Regions from separate parts of the Homo sapiens genome. Here regions 1 and 2 are each linked to region 3. The links are contacts of gene promoters, found by promoter capture Hi-C in human tissues and cell types (Jung and others, 2019). All regions are on one chromosome and are shown on one strand. The core of a region is centred on a gene start or on the middle of the fragment in contact, and the rest is flanking DNA. Distances in the headings are between cores, read along the strand shown.

What was found. The method cuts DNA at HindIII sites, captures the fragments that hold promoters and counts their contacts. A contact is called where the count stands out against the background at its distance.
Region 1: a contact is called between a fragment that was not itself captured here and the fragment with the promoter of AIP in region 3, in 1 of the 25 tissues and cell types used here (spleen).
Region 2: a contact is called between a fragment that was not itself captured here and the fragment with the promoter of AIP in region 3, in 1 of the 25 tissues and cell types used here (dorsolateral prefrontal cortex).

What each region holds. Positions count from the first base shown.
Region 1 is chr11:66,637,216-66,640,528 of GRCh38, forward strand. The region is part of intron 1 of RBM14-RBM4 (RBM14-RBM4 readthrough); the gene reads left to right. It overlaps RBM4 (RNA binding motif protein 4), which reads left to right and starts at 1,488. Exons shown (of 4, transcript NM_002896.4): 1 at 1,488-1,537; 2 at 2,485-2,908. The coding sequence starts at 2,497. RefSeq lists enhancers at 939-1,652, 1,417-1,786, 1,653-2,364. The HindIII fragment of the contact is 5,623 bases long and covers 1-3,313 here.
Region 2 is chr11:66,704,699-66,708,158 of GRCh38, forward strand. It overlaps SPTBN2 (spectrin beta, non-erythrocytic 2), which reads right to left. Exons shown (of 38, transcript NM_006946.4): 12 at 3,443-3,460; 13 at 2,818-3,120; 14 at 986-1,139; 15 at 1-770. Among named protein-coding and RNA genes, the nearest start is that of SPTBN2, 23 kb to the right of the region's middle. The HindIII fragment of the contact is 6,421 bases long and covers 1-3,460 here.
Region 3 is chr11:67,481,597-67,484,953 of GRCh38, forward strand. AIP (AHR interacting HSP90 co-chaperone) reads left to right here and starts at 1,430. Exons shown (of 6, transcript NM_003977.4): 1 at 1,430-1,661. The coding sequence starts at 1,563. RefSeq lists an enhancer at 1,272-1,331. The HindIII fragment of the contact is 17,225 bases long and covers 932-3,357 here.

The DNA of each region.
Region 1 (3,313 bases), core at 689-3,188, 840 kb before region 3:
GGATTACAGGGGCCTGCCACCACATTGGGCTAATTTTTGTATTTTTAGTGGAGATGGCGTTCACCATGTTGGCTAGGCTGGTCTTGAACTCCTGACCTCAGGTGATCCGCCCGCCTCGGCCTCCCAAAGTGCTGGGATTACAGGCGTGGGCCACCGCACCTGGCCCTCGTGTTGGGTTTTAAAACCCACTCTTTTTTTTCCCCCCCAAACTCTGACTTCACCTTTCTCTTTATGAAACCGTTCTCTTTTTGGGGCGGGGGTGGTGGTGAAGAAGCTGCTTTGGATGGTGGTGTGTGGTACTTGTGTCATCTTCACTCCTGATGATCCCTTTCCTCATAAACTCTGCACTGCTTTTAGCCTGTTTTGTTCGTGTTATAAGTTCTTCCATCCAGTCCCTGCACTCCACCTTTTAACCCTTTTCAAAAGCTGCTTCGCAAAGGGTCTTGACTAAAGTTGCTTGCTTAATGAATATGAAGCAGCCTAAGGATGAGAGAAAACGAGGCAGCAGCTGGACCCTCTGGAGAATGTTACTTTGTATTTTGTTTACAGCTGGTTGTGACTAAGCTCTGTCCTCTAAAGTCGGTTCTAGGGGATTAAAACAGCTCTGGCTGATGGCGCCCAATAAAATAAAACAAAAAAACCTTTGCTGCTCCAGTTTTTTCTCAGGGTGGGGTCGGGGTATACTTTAAATCTCCATGGTCTCAGAAAGGTTTCTTCATCGCGGACCCTGGGAGGCTGGTTCCCAGAGGGAACTTGTCCTCAGCGTCTCCTGGACAGTGCAGCCTCCTGCCGGGCCTACTTCTGGAAGGCCATTACAGAGGTCCTTTCACCACCTGTGAGAGGTTTGATTTTGGGGGAGCTCCGGGACTCTCAAGGCTACAGTGTGGACTGCTGGCCCAAGGAGAAGGTTGGTTTCCTGAAGTGGTGGGTGGTGGGTTGGGGGGGGTCTTCGTTGTTTTTCTTCCCTGGCATGTGCCTGCATAAGCTATTTCCACAGCGTCCTGGCCGCGAGGGGGGGTGGTGCTTGGGAGGTTAGAGGGAGACACCTAGAGTGAACGGCAAAATGGAGCGCGGAATACTGTCTGGCTGTGCACGTGGAGGTGGCGAAATGTGGAAGCTTAACGAAGTTGGCGCCATGAAGCTAAAGACTGCTACCCCGGGGCTCTAGCTCGCTCCGCCTAATGGCGGGCCGCACCCCGCCGGCGAAGCCCACGTTTGTAGGTCCGCCCTCACGCTGATCTCTTGCCCAATCAGCGAGTTCGGCTTCGCGAGGTTGGTGCCCATTGGCTTTCGCATAAAAGCTCCGAGGTTACAGACGTTTCCACCTCTTGCCGGCCTCTTAGGTAATTGGCGTCCGTGGTAACCAATCAGGAAGAGGATCTGAGGGAACGCCGGCCTTTTACTTTCTTGAGTGGCCAATCCGGTTGTAGGCTCACCTCCCCCTTCTACTCAGAGCACTGCTGCGGCCGCCGCCATTTTAGCGTTTTGTCAGAAGCGTCCGCGCCGCGAGGAGGAGGCCCTGCTGGTTTCTGTGCGGGTGAGACTCCGAGCCTTTCCACTGCCTTTCTTGTACTGTGTTAAATCTTCTCTCACTCCCTTGGGCTTCGGGGGTGTCCTGGTAGGTCCGCAGTCTCCACACCCGTCACTGAGAGCCGACCTCGGTCCTCGGCATTGCGCGGTAAGCCGGGAGCAGCCCTTCCCCCACCGCCCCCTGAGAATACCTTGCTTTTTTTCGCCCACCCTGTCCCGCGCCCGACATGGCTGCTCTTGGAGCCTCGAGATTTCCACTGGGATAACCCCCTTTCCCTTATATCTGACAGTTACATTCTCGTTTCGGGAATTTCTCGGGCCGTGAGACATCGTCTGGTTAATGAATCTGAAGCTCTTTTCCGCGGCCGCGCATTTCAGTGTTCGGCAGGAGCTAGGACGGTGCCCCGAGAGAGGCGTTCACCACTCCAGTATTTCCTTTATCTCCCACTCCTCGCTGTCTGATCCGAGTCGCGCGTTCATTACTTCCAAAGGAAACTCAAATGTAGCTATTACAAGGCCCATTTTCCCGGAAATGATGGCTGCTTTGGTTCCTACGTGAGGAAAAGCCTGTTGATAATTTCAGGCAGGCAGTCAGCAAGCCTAGTAGACTTTTGTTTTCTGTTGTCCTCCTAGTGGATAGAAAAGCCTAGTACCCCCATTTCTTCATATGCTGTCTTTCATGCCCATTTCTGTTGGAAGGTATCGGTTCTTACCAAACCCTTTGTCTACTAAGGACCTCCCTATTGCAGACGTCTTCTTATTCTTACAGGTTCATGGCGGCTACTATAGCAGGCCTTAGTTCACTCCCACTTCCATTTGATTATTGTGTGGAGGTGTGTGTGCAGGCGTGTGAGAGAGAAAACTGGAAATATACATTAGAGTGAAAGTCGTTGTCTTTTGTGAACGGATGTGGGCCTGAGGTCTTTTGTCAGATGTCTTGTTTTTCTCTCCCAGGCTCTTGTCAGGATGGTGAAGCTGTTCATCGGAAACCTGCCCCGGGAGGCTACAGAGCAGGAGATTCGCTCACTCTTCGAGCAGTATGGGAAGGTGCTGGAATGTGACATCATTAAGAATTACGGCTTTGTGCACATAGAAGACAAGACGGCAGCTGAGGATGCCATACGCAACCTGCACCATTACAAGCTTCATGGGGTGAACATCAACGTGGAAGCCAGCAAGAATAAGAGCAAAACCTCAACAAAGTTGCATGTGGGCAACATCAGTCCCACCTGCACCAATAAGGAGCTTCGAGCCAAGTTTGAGGAGTATGGTCCGGTCATCGAATGTGACATCGTGAAAGATTATGCCTTCGTACACATGGAGCGGGCAGAGGATGCAGTGGAGGCCATCAGGGGCCTTGATAACACAGAGTTTCAAGGTGAACCACCCTCTTTGGGTAGAGGGCTGAACACAAGGCTGTGTGCAGAAAATGGTTGGATAAGTAAAAGGAGAGGTTTGGTAAAGATAACAGCTGTTGGCTGGCTGGTGATGAAGAAATAAGTGTGGGTGATGGACTTCTTATGATGTAGAATGCATGGGACTTAGGGGCTTTACCTTAGGCAAATGTCTCCTGGAGAAAAGCCACTCACCTTTTATTTGGAGCCCCTACGGCTTTTGTGCTTATCAGTGCAGAAACCCTTTTCTTTGAAGGCTTTCTGAGTTACTGGGCCTTTTTTATTTTTTATTTTTTTGTAGTAGAGCACAGTTCAGAGTTCCTCACTCTGAATTTATTGCCCTCAGCACAGGATCAGAATTCTGCATTTTACGTGAAGAACCTCTCAAA
Region 2 (3,460 bases), core at 961-3,460, 780 kb before region 3:
GCTGAGCATGGTGTAGAGCGCCAGGGCTGCCTCCAAGGCCCGCGCTCGCTCGCCTGCCCGGGCCTGCAGCTCCTCGTAGTGCCGCTCCAGGGTGGGCACCCGGCTCTGCACCTCGGGCGTGCGGCTCAGTGTGGGGGGCAGGGCTGCTGCCTGTTCCCTCAAGGCGTCCAGGGTTGGCCGGTGGCTTCGAATCTCCTCCTCCAGGGCCCGATGCTGCCTGGCTAGAGCCTGCGTGGAGAACTCGTCGTGCCCCAGCTCGGGGCTGGACACCAGGCGCAGTGCGTCAACCAACCAGGCCTCCATGTCGTTTGCATCGGCCTGGAACTGGTAGAGGCTGGCGGCTTGGGCCAGCCGCTGGGCACGCTCCTCGGCCAGGGCCTCTAGCCGCTCCCACTGGGCTTGGAGTTCAGCTGCACGGGCAGAGGCCTGGCTTGCCCCAGGGTGACCCTCGGCCACCAACTGCTGGCCCTGCTCCAGGGTGAGCTTCAGGGGCCCCAGCCGGCCGCTCATCTCGCCCCGCAGGGCTGTGTGCTTGTTGAGCAGGCGGAGGGCACCGGTCAGGTCTCGGCCCGTGTCGGCTGAGGCCAGGAGGTGCTGCTGCTCCCGCACCCAGGCCTCAGCTTCACCCACCTCCCAGAGGAAACGCCAGAGCCGCCGTGATTCCTCCAGCCGGGCCCGCCGCGCCGCTGCCAACTCGCACAGTGCCTCATAGCTCTGCTCTAGCTTGGCCACCCGCTCCGACACCAGCTGCGGGTCGCAAGGTCTATACTCTGAGAAAGTCACAGGAGAGGGTCAGAGCCTTAACCCAGCCCTCCGGCTGCTCCCTGCCACCACACTCTCTTGGACTTCCCTCCCTGGCTTTAGCTCAGTCACCATCGTTTGGCCACCATCTTTCCCGTCCCCAGGTTTCCCAACCCTTCCACCTCGGCTCTTGATGTGCTCCTTCCCAGCCCCTCCCTCTCCAGTGCCTTCGCTGACTTCTCACCTTTCCCTGGGTTGCAGAAGCGCAGGGCAGAGGCGCTGACGGCCCGCACCCTCTCGGCCTGCACGGCGATGTCTGCCTCCACCAGCTCGTGCAGCTGCAGCAGGTCCTCCACTCCTGCTAGGTGCCTGCCCAGGTCCTGAGACTGCAGCCGGCCCTGCCAGGCACACATGAAGTGCACATGCCCGCCTGAGCACAGACGCGCTAACCTGGCTGCGTTTTTCTTCCAACTTCTCCACGGCCCCAGGTGTTGCACCCAGGTGAGAAACCTGCTTGCTCACACATACTTGAGATACCCCAGTTCTGCCCTGGCACCCCGACCTCCTTATCCTGAACTCCCCTGCTGTGGAACAATGTTCTAACTAACTCCTGCTCTTGGAAGCTTTGCTGTGACTAATCTTCTCAGCCTCAGAATCATCGACACCCTCCTGCCGCCACCGCTCCGCCCCAGCACCCAGCAGCCTTCCTTCCACATCTCTCCCCAATCCACCCTCCTAGCCGCTGCCCGCCTGGAAGATGGCAGCAACCTCTAACGGTCTCGCTGTCATGCTGCCTGCCCACAGGCCTTCTTCAGAGTAGCCAAAGTGACTTTTTTACAAACATAAGGTACAATCAAATCTCTCCCCCTCTCAAAACCTTCTAATCACTTTATTTATTTATTTATTTTGAGATGGAGTCTCGCTCCTGTAGTGCAGGCTGGAGTGCAGTAGCACAATCTCAGTTCACTGCAACCTCCACCTCCCAGGTCCAAGCAATTCTCCTTCCTCAGCCTCCTGACTAGCTGGGATTACAGGCGTGTGCCACCACACTCAGCTAATTTTTGTATTTTTAGCAGAGATGGGGTTTCACCATGTTGGCCAGGCTGGTCTTGGACTCCTGACCTCAGGTGATCCGCCCGCCTCGGCCTCCCAAAGTCTTAGGATTATAGGCGTGAGCCACCTTGCCTAGCTGCTTTTTTTTTTTTTTTTTGACTGAGTCTTGCTCTATCACCTAGGCTGGAGTGCAGTGGTGCAATCTTGGCTCACTGCAACCTCCGCCTCCTGGGTTCAAGCGATTCTGCTGTCTCAGCCTCCTGAGTAGCTGGGACTACAGGCATGCGCTACCACCGCACCTGGTTAATTTCTGTATTTTTATAGACACGGGGTTTCACCATGTTGGCCAGGCTGGTCTTGAACTCCTGACCTCAAGTGATCTGCCTGCCTTGGCCTCCCAAAGAGCTGGGATTACAGGCATGAGCCACTGCGCCTGGCCCCTTCAAATCACTTTAAAGGATCCATGTTACTTTGAATAAAATCCAAACTCCCTGACCAGGCCTGTAAGGCCCTAGTGGGCTGGCCGTGCCCTCCCAAATCTCAGTCCATGGCCCCCACTCCTCATGCTCACAGCCCACCGGCCTTCCTTCTGATCCTGAACACACCATGCTGATCCAGGCCGAGGGCCTGTGCCGGCTGTTCCTTCTGCCCGGAACATTCTCTCCTGAGAGCTCTCTGTGCTGGCTCCTGGCACTATTCTGGTCTCGGCTTAAATGGTATTTTCTCAGAGGCCTTGTCTGACCAGCCCCTCACACCACCCTGTTCCAGTTTCATCAGTGGTTTTATGGCCCCTGCTCTTTTGTTTACGGAAAGGTCCGTGGGTTTTGTCATCAGCCTCCTCCATGTGGACACGAACCCCATGTGGACAGGGCCCTGTTTACTTTGTTCCCTGCAACTGGGGACAGGGCCCTGTGCTGGTTCACACTCCACAGAGATCGGCCGAGCAGACGGGCGGACGCACCCACTGTGGGGCCCCCTCGACTCTTGATCACTCTTACCCCACCCAGCACGCCTCACTGGTACCTTCATCTCTTCCATCCAGTCCATGAGGTAGAGCAGGTCCTGGAACACCTTCTGCAGCTCCAGGTTGAGGAGGAGCCGCTCCCGCCGGGCGGCCACCATCTGCCGCAAGAAGTCCCAGAGCCGTGCCACGTTGTGCTGCCGAGCGGCGATGCGCTTGATGTCGTGGTAGCGCTCGGCGGCCAGCTCTGCAGCCACGGCGTCCACTGCCTGCACCCGGCCGCTGTAGGCCACGATGTCCGTCTCAATGGCTTCGTGCTTCCGTACTGCTGCCTCGACAGCTGCCAGCTCCAGCCCAAAGTTGTCCTGTGTCGGGGGCAGGGAGAGGAGGTGTGGGGACCAAGGGACAGTGCCTCTGCCTGCTCCTCTGTCCTGCAGGGCACTTGGCCTGCAAGATCCCAGCTCCATGCGGTGGCTCTAAGTTCCCTCTCTATCCCACCCCCATCCTGTCTCACCAACCCTCTCTCCTGTCCCACCCTCTGGCCCCTGGCTCCCGGACCTCTAGGCCTTTTTACCCAGGTGACGGATTTTGTGTTTCATTGTCTCTCCACCCCGCGGGGCTTCTTATCCACCCTGTCTCTCTCCCAGTTCTGACCAGCCTAAGCATCCTAGGAGCCTCAAGTCCTACCTGGGACACGAGGCGCTG
Region 3 (3,357 bases), core at 180-2,679:
CACTTAGCATATTGATGCTTTTTTTTTTTTTTTGAGATGGGGTCTCACTCTATCACCCAGGCTGGAGTGCAGTGGTGCGATCTTGGCTCACTACAACCTCCATCTCCTGGGCTCAAGCAATCCTCCAGCCTCAGCCTGCTGAGTAGCTGGGACCACAGGCGTGCACCACCACACCACCTAATTTTTTGTATTTTTGGTGAAGATGGTATTTTGCCATGTTGTCCAGGCTGGTCTTGAACTTGTGAGCTCAAGGAGATCCAGGAGATCCACTTGCCTTGGCCTCCCAAAGTGCTGGTATTAGAGGCATAAGCCACCACACCTGCCCCATACTGATGCATTTTTACATGACATTAGTGAATTCAATTAGCCTAGTATTTTATTTAGAATGTTTCATATCAGCTGGGCGCTGTGGCTCACGCCTGTAATCCCAGCACTTTGGGAGGCCGAGGTGGGCGGATCACGAGGTCCGGAGATTGAGACCATCCTGGCTAACACGGTGAAACCCTGTCTCTACTAAAAATACAAAAAATTAGCCGGGCATGGTGGCGGGCGCCTGTAGTCCCAGCTGCTCGGGAGGCTGAGGCAGGAGAATGGCGTGAACCCGGGAGGCAGAGCTTGCAGTGAGCTGAAATTGTGCCACTGCACTCCAGCGTGGGTGACAGAGCGAGACTCCGTCTCAAAAAAAGAAAAACAAAAGTTGTTTTAGCCCCAAAGTACCTCATTTCTCTTTTCTTTTAATTTAATTTTTTTTTTTTGTTTTGTTTTGAGACAGCATCTCGCTCTGTCGGCTAGCCTGGAGTGCAGTGGCACGAACACGGCCCACTGCAGCCTCGAACTCCTGGGCTCAAGCGATCCTCTCGCCTCGGCCTCCCAAAGTGGTGGGGTTACAGGGCCACCGCGCCCGGCGCTAAAGTACCTCATTTCTATCATTCATCGATTATTCCCTAATATTAATTGGGCACAACTATGACTCATTTCCGACCCCGCAATGGGCTCTCTTGGTCTCCTTCTCCACCTTTCTTTCCCTCTTCCTCTTTTTATTTTTTGAAAGAGGAAGATCCAGGATGCAAGAGTCCCGACAATCATACTAGATATGCGAAAGAGAAAAAGCCGGAAGAAAATACACAAAAATCATAACACTTTGAGGGTGTGGCTTACGGGTGTTTTTTTTTTTTTTCATTTTCCTAACTCTGCAGTGCTGTTATATTCCATCCACAACTTCAAACAAAGTGCCACACGGCCGCAGTCCCAATCAATTCAATGACAATTGTTAGGGACGTCCTCGTCCCGCCCGGCCCGCGGACCCCGGCCCTTCCTCCTTGACAGGCTGGGGTCCAGCCCCGAGACATTCCTAGGCTCCGCCCCCGAGCAGACGCGCGCGCTCAGCCCCAGCGCAGAGAACCAATCACCATCCGTTTCCACGCTCAGTCCCTTTTGGCTTCTGCCCTCAACCAAAATGGCGCTAGCTCGGAAGCTGCCGAGGTGCTAGGAGTTGCCGAAGCAAGTCCGGAAGCTACCGAGCGAGTCCGGAAGTTGCCGAAAGGGAGCAGCGGGGAAGGAGGATGGCGGATATCATCGCAAGACTCCGGGAGGACGGGATCCAAAAACGTGTGATACAGGAAGGCCGAGGAGAGCTCCCGGACTTTCAAGATGGGACCAAGGTTCGTGTCTACCCTACCCTTCTCCCCCTCTGCGGCGTGGTGCGCATGCGAGGCGGGAGGAGGCCTTAGGCGAGAGGTTGCGCATGCCCAGAGGGCAGCGTCCACTGCCCCTACCGCTCACATGCAGAACTCGACGCTGATTGGGCTGAATTTAAGTAGGGGGTGAATTCGGGCCTGTCTGCCCCGCCCCCTGGCTCGGCCTTGTAGCAGCATTGGTGGGGGAGGCCGTCAGTCATCACAAGCGGGTTGGGGTTGGGGGTTGATCTCAGTGCTTGGGCAGACCCCACGCTGGAGGAAACCCAGGGCCGGGAGTGGTCCTCGGGTATCTGGGTTTCAAGGCTCATGATCCTTTGTAGATGGAAGGGCCTTCTGAAAACACTTAGACCAACTGCCGCTGTTTAGAGTGGAAAACCAAGACCCTGGGACGTGCAAAGCCGGAGAACGGGCCCAGAGGTCAGGTCTCCCAGACAGGGACTCTTTAGCAGCCTTCCTGCTGCACTAGGGGCTTGTTGGGACAGATGAGGGTTGGGAAGTAAAGAACCTCCCACTTTTCTCCTTTTTGCCAGGCCCCCAGATCCAGCCCCTCTGCCCGCTTCTCCCCCAACCTACAACTCCAGGCTTCCCTGCTTCTCCTGTAGTTGCCTCCTCCCGGAGTGCTTTTCCCAGCTGCCACTTGTTTGCAGAGTAGGGAACCTCCCAGGGGCAGCCCCTGTGCCCAGCAGAGCAGTCAGGCAGGACATGCACATTGAGCAAATGAGCACATGCCCCCTGGCCAGCACCGTGCCGAATCGGGCAGCTAAGCATCCTAGCCCAGTGCAGTATAAGTGCCCTGAGAGCAGAGGGGAGCTGCATGGCTGGAGTGATCCGCTGTATGAAAAGATATCTTCTCTAAGAAGAGACAGGATGTGTGGTGTGGGTTCATGCCCCCATGTGCTGGGGGGTTGGTGGCGTTGGAAGAAGGGGCTGGCAAGGGGGATCCTGGATGGAACAGACATCAGAAGGAGAGATGTGAACAATGGCACCCCAAGATCAGAAACAGGTGGTGTTAAATAACCAATCGCCAGCACTGATTGAGTGCTCACTATTCGAACATTGTGCTACATGCTTCACACGTTTATTTCCTACAATGTGAGATAGGTACTGTTGTTGATTCCGTTTTACCGATGTGGAAACTGACTTCAGAGATGCAGCATGGTGCGGCAGTTAAGAGCGTGGGCTCCTCTAACCATATCCTGTCGAGAGTTCAATCTCCAAACCTCTTTTCTCTGCACCCACCCCCAGTGTTATCTCTAAAAACTCTCCCTGCCCGGATTACTCCCAGATGCAGCTCTCCAGTCATTAACTGTCTCTTAAACCTGATATATAGCTCCCTACTCACCATATCCACCTGGAAGCCTGGTTGGCAACTCACACTTAACCTGCTCCACCTGAGGCTTCTCCGTGTCAGGGGAACCAACAACCTTCCCGTTGTTCAGGGCAAAAACCTTAGCATCTCTGTGGTCCTCCCAGTCTCACATCCAACATCACATCCTCAATATCCAGCCAGGATCTGAGTTCTCACCACTTCTGCCATCACTGCTTGGGTCCAGGCCATCCTCATCTCCAGCCTGGGTTACTGCAGCGACCTCTAACTCTCCTGCCTCTTTTGTCCCTCTGTGGTCTGTTCTCGTCCCAGCAGCCGAGCCCATGCCAGATT